2 separate regions of the Homo sapiens genome follow, and region 2 is linked to region 1. Evidence: promoter capture Hi-C in human tissues and cell types (Jung and others, 2019). All regions are on one chromosome and are shown on one strand. Each heading gives the region's core, a stretch centred on a gene start or on the middle of the fragment in contact. The rest is flanking DNA. Distances are from core to core; before and after follow the strand shown. Region 1 holds the start of MIER2 (MIER family member 2). Region 2 holds the start of SHC2 (SHC adaptor protein 2).

The links. The method cuts DNA at HindIII sites, captures the fragments that hold promoters and counts their contacts. A contact is called where the count stands out against the background at its distance.
Region 2: the fragment with the promoter of SHC2 here is called in contact with the fragment with the promoter of MIER2 in region 1 in 4 of the 25 tissues and cell types used here (dorsolateral prefrontal cortex, lymphoblastoid cells, mesendoderm cells and 1 more).

Annotation. Positions count from the first base shown.
Region 1 is chr19:343,403-346,102 of GRCh38, forward strand. MIER2 (MIER family member 2) reads right to left here and starts at 1,394. Exons shown (of 14, transcript NM_017550.3): 1 at 1,372-1,394. The coding sequence starts at 1,380. RefSeq lists an enhancer at 1-450 and silencers at 759-868, 1,169-1,218, 1,289-1,738. The HindIII fragment of the contact is 27,379 bases long and covers 1-2,700 here.
Region 2 is chr19:459,670-462,369 of GRCh38, forward strand. SHC2 (SHC adaptor protein 2) reads right to left here and starts at 1,364. Exons shown (of 13, transcript NM_012435.3): 1 at 860-1,364. The coding sequence starts at 1,327. The HindIII fragment of the contact is 8,702 bases long and covers 1-2,441 here.

The sequences.
Region 1 (2,700 bases), core at 144-2,643:
TGCATGGGGACTCAGTCTCCCTAAGCGTCTCAAGAAGAACTAATTCTCGATGAAGGAACTGGCCGGTGGTCTGGCCTAGTATCGAGACACCTACACCGTCTTTGGCATAAACACAGGGCCTGTTACTGCCCCTGAGGTCGTCACCAGGGGGAGAGAATGGCCAGTCCTGCCTCCCACAACGCCCAAGACATAAACACGCAACGTGGCACCACGGCCAGGCCGCAGTTCCAATCCCGGCTTCCCACGAGGCGGCTGTGCCTGGCTGGGTGGGCACCTTTTCCTTTGGGCTCTATCCCAGAGATAGGATCAGCTCTTGAGTCTGCCCGCCTGTCGTAACTTCTGCGCACAGAAGTCATGCACTGAGTCCCACTGACTGAGCACCTCGCAGCCGCCGCACCTTCACCTACATTATCTCTTTCCATCTTCACCAGGGCCCTCCAAGGTGAAAGCAAGTCCACACAGGCTCATCCACCACTCCAAAATCAAAAAAAGCTTCAAAAGCGAAAGTTTCTTCCTTCCTGGTTTGACCTGACACGAAGCTATCTGTTGTCTTATCCTAGACAGTCCTAGGTGGGTTTGATCAAACATCACAGTCCAAAATCCCACAGATCCTCAAATTGGAAAAATTCTGGATTCCAAAATATAGCTGGTCCCAAACATTTCAGATAAAGGGTCCCGGGCTTGTTTCCTGGACGAGGGAGGAGGCTCCAGAAGTAACTTCGTGCCCGGGAGAGGCTGGTCCAACTCTTCTGAGATCAGCCCCGACGCTCTCTAGGCCCCGGCAGACCCACCCACCCTGCGCCCAGTTCGCGCCAGGCGGGTCCGCGTCGGGAGTTCAAATCCCGCCCGGGGTCTGACCCAGCCCCGCCGGGGGGCTCGCGGGCGGCGGAGGCGCGGTGGGTCCACCGGGATCCCGATGGGGAGCGCGGGGCGCCTGGCGGCCCCAGCACTCGGCAAAGTTGGCAAAGGCGCGGGAGGGGAGGCCTGCGCGCCGCGGGGCCCGGGCCGGGGCCGGGAACCGGAGCCGGACCCTGGAACGGAGCCGCGCGCCCACCGGACCCCCGACACCAGCCCCGCCCCGCGTCCCTCCCCTCCCCCACCCCGGCCCCCGCCCGCCCCGCGCCGCCGCGCATGCGCACTGCAGCCCGCGATGTGGCAGCCGGGGGAGTTGGGGGGTGGGGGCCGGCCGGGGGCGGCCGCCGATGGAGCCCCGCGCCCCTCCGGCCCCGGACGGGCCAGGCGCCCCGGCCGGCCTCAGAGCTCCAGAGCGGGGCTCTCCGTCCCTGGGGCCCACGACGAGGCCGAGCCACGGCGGCGGGGGGCGCGGACGCGCGGGGGCGGGGGGCCGGCTCCCCCGGCCCGCTCACTCACCTCCGCCATGGCCGTGTGTGCGCGGGAGGCGGTGGCCGCGCCGGGATCCCCGGATGAGGGGCCGCGCACTCATTGGCTGTGGAGCCTGGAGGGCGGGGCAGGGGGCGGAGCCTGGAGGGGGCGGAGAGCGGGCCGGGCGCGTAGTAGGTGCGCGGGCGCGGGCGCGGGCGCGCAGCCGAGCGTGGCCGGCGGCTTCTGGCGAGCTTGCGGTGTCTTTCCGGCCGTCTCTGCTGGACCCTGATCTTGGCCTTGGCCTTGGCGGAGGAGACTGCATTCCATAAAAATACGAATTCCTGATAATCACACCTGCGTGGGGACCACGTGGTCCTGTGTGACCTCTTCATTCCCTCGGCTGCTCGCTGTTAATACCCCGCGTGGCAGACTAGGAAACTGAGGCCCAGGGCGACGGGCCACCCAGAGTGTCAGTGATAGAGCCAGAATTGGTGTCCGGGCTGCGTGGTTCTGGAATTTTCTGCACTTTCGCACCCGTGATGAGCAAACTAGCGCGCGGAGGAACCAATCGGGGAGCTTGCGAACGCGCACCAGTCGGAGAGGTTTTAGAAACGGTGGCCCCGCGCCGGAGAGCCCAAGGCGGGAGGCAGGGAGGTGGGCTTGACCCCAGGGCCATTTGGTTCTGCAGTCCGTCGTTTCGCAGATTGAACATTTCTGGAACACGTGCACGTTCTGATCCTGAGGGTTTGAAGGAGACAGCCCTAACGCCTGTCTTCAGGGCGTTTAGAGTGGAGGATGGGAAGGCAAGGACTCGCCACACCTTAAATTTGAGACGGATAAGTGCCGTGAATCTTCGGGGCGCACGATGCAGAGAGAGGATAGGAAGCAGGGGTGGGGCGTGAAGAGGCAGGGGCCAGGTGGGAGCTGTGGGGCCTGGACCAGAGTGCAGAGAGACTTGAGAAGGTGGACACCACAAGACTCGCTGATGGAGGGAAGCTGGAGAGAGTGAAGGATGGCCTCCAGATGTCTGGCTTGCGCAAATGAGTGGAGGGCGGTTCCTACTGAGACCAGGAAGAAGAGAACTGGAGACCAGGAAGAAGGGAATTGGGGACCAGGAGGAAGGGAATTGGGGACCAGGAAGAAGAGAATGAGTCTCATTCCTGTTTCCCAGTGATCAGCCAATGAATAGTGAGAACTTGACATGCATCAGCCTTGATTCCTGATGCAAAATCATTACTCAGTCCTCTGAGAATTCACCAACCAAGAGATAGAAGAACCACTCTGGAGGGGTCTACCCTCACTCCTTTTTTGGTTTACATCATTGAGATTGAGGGTTCTGGCCCTCGTGTTGAAGAGTCCTCACTGATTTGTGCAAGA
Region 2 (2,700 bases), core at 114-2,613, 120 kb after region 1:
AACTCAGTGTCCAGAAAAGCAAAGACACAACCCAATGTGAACACAGGCTAATGTTCCTGGCCGCAGAGGCCGGGAGGAGCTGGGAGCACCCACCGGTAGTGGCGTGCGGGAGTGGCTGATCATTTTCCCAGACGCCGTAATGACTGCAGCTGTAGGACAGCTGCTCTCTCAGAAGACGGGGGACTATGCACGGCGCTGTCACCCCTGCAGGTGACTTCACACGGTTTACTATAAACCACAGAGAGGGGCAGACCCGTCAGCAGAGGGGAAGGTTACCCTCCTAGGTGGAGGCGTGCTGTGTCCAGGCGCCCGACTTCCCCGTGTGTTTGAAAAGGTTCATTTATCATAAGACCCAAGGTAAATAAACAAAGGCCGCTTCCTTGGCCGCCCTGGAAGTCCCTGCTGCCTCCCATCTGGAATCCTGGGGTCTGTCCGGGCGCCAGCCCCTTTCCAAACACCCCTTCCCGCACCCCCACCGCAGGCCAGCGTCTCGGGCCCCGTCTGTCATTCGTGAACAGCTGTCCGGGGGGCTCCGGTGGCAGAGACGCCCCGGCCGCTCGCCGCTCTCGGCCTCGCCCGCCCAGTCCGAGTGGGGGGCGGTGCACCTGCGCATGCGCGCCCCTCCCCCGCCGCCCTCTCCCCGCCCCTCCCCACGTGACGCCGTGGGAACCCGGACCCCAGCGCCTCCGGGTGGGGGCAGCCGCCGGCCGCCGGCCGGGGATGGGGGTCCGGGGTGGCGGGAGAGCAGGAAGGATGGGGAGGGGACACCTGGCTCGCGGGGTCCGGGGGTCCCGGAGGAGAGGGTGGGGGAGGGGAGGCCGCCGCGAACGGGCTCCCGGGGGGGGTGGGGGGGACTCACCCGCACGACGTAGGAGACCCCGGGCCCCAGGACCCTGGCGTCGGGGTGTAGCCAGCCGTGCGCGGGTTTGTGGATGAAGCTGCCCTTCCGGATCCACTCGGCGGCGGCGGCGGCGTCCCCGGACCCCGCCGCCCCCCGCCCGCCCCGCGACCCCCGCGACCCCGCGCCCCGACAGCGGCTGAGCGCGGGCAGGGGACAGGGCGCGGCGCAGCGGGGCTCGCAGGCGCCCAGGACGGCGGCCGCCAGCGCCGGGACGCCCCCCGGGCCCGCCGGCTCGGGTTGGGGGTCCGCGCCCCCCGAGGCCCCAGCCGCCCGCGCCGCCGCCGGGCCGCGGCCCAGGAAGCCGCCCGGGGCCGCGAACTTCCACTGCGGCATTCGGGGCAGCAACGCGCAGAAGGTGGTGGGCGCCTCGGGCTCGGGGGGCGCGGGGGGCGCCGGGGGCGCGCGCCCGCCCGGACCCTGCGTCATGGCCGCGGCCGCCCGACGGAGCCCGACCGGGCGCTGCGCCTGGCGCGGAGGAAGCCCTCCCGCTCCGCCCGCTCCCTCCCGCCCCCCGGCCCGGTGATGTCATCCGCCCGGCCCAGCGCGCAGCCGCGGGGGGCTGCGCCCCTGGGACCCCGGCCCTCCTCGTCCCGGAGCCTGGCCGCGAGGCTGGGGAAACTGAGGCCCTCCGAGGACACCGGGCGCTGGCCTGGAACCCGCAGCCAAGGCGGGACGGGGCTTTGAACCCAGAACCCCGTCAGCGACCCTCCCCGCTGCGCCCCCCACCCCCGCCCGCCGCCCAAGTTCGCAGAAGGACCGAGCTGGAGAAGCTTAGAAATTCCACATCCCTTCTTTCCCCTATTTCCTAGTGGGGAAACTGAGGCCCCGGGAGGCGCGGCCAGGGAAAAGAGAACCCCAGACCCTAAGGTCAGCCCCTCCCTCTCCGTTGTTGCAGCTAGAAGGTACCTTAGGGTCACCCCTATTTCTTAGTGGGGAAACTGAGGCGCGGGGAGGGGAAGGGGCGCGGCCGAGGGCTCACAGACGAAGCTCAAACCCAGGAGTGCCGGCTCGGGGGTGGGGGGGGGGGGCGGGGCTAGGAGCGGAGCCGGGCCCCTGCTCTGCGGCCTGTCCCGGCCTCAGTTTCTCCGGCTGTAACTCAGGGGAGCGGGCTGGAGGGTCGCGGCCCTTCTTCCCTCACTTCTGGGGAGCCCAGTCCCGCACCAGCTCATCTGAGCTCTGGGCCTCAGCCTCCCAGGCCGGTCGCTCCATCCCCAGCCTCAACCTCTCCGAGACCGGCCGCACCTTCCCTGGCCTCAAGGGTCGGTTCCTTCTGCACCAGAAAACGGGGTGTCACTGTCACCCCGGGACCCAGCCTCCTGGCCCGACTTGGCTGGAGCTCCCCTGCACCTGCCCCGCCCCAAGCAGGGCTGATTGCCGGGAACAAAGGGAGGGGCCGGGACGCGCTGGCAGGTGGGGAGGGAGGGAGGGGCGAGGCTGCCCGGAGCCCGATCGATAATTCAGGGGATGAGATCACAGCCGGCGCCGCCCGCGGGGCCGGGGAGGTGGGGGAGGGGAGCGAGGCGCGCGGTCGCGATCGGCCGTCTCTGCCGCGGCGCGTGTCGGACTCAGCCCCTGCGCGTCCGCGGGAGGAGCAGATCGTGGGCGCGATTGGTCGGGCTGGAGCCGCGGCTGGACCTGCGCGCGGTGTGTGTGTTGTGCGCAGGGTGTACGCTGTGTCTGGGTGCGTGTCCAGGCATATGCAGGGGATCCAGGCTGCTGGGTCCTGGGGTGTGTTCACCTAATGGGTAAAGGGTGGGACAGGTTTGGCGGCCCTAGGCTGAGGGCTGTGGGCTGAGGAG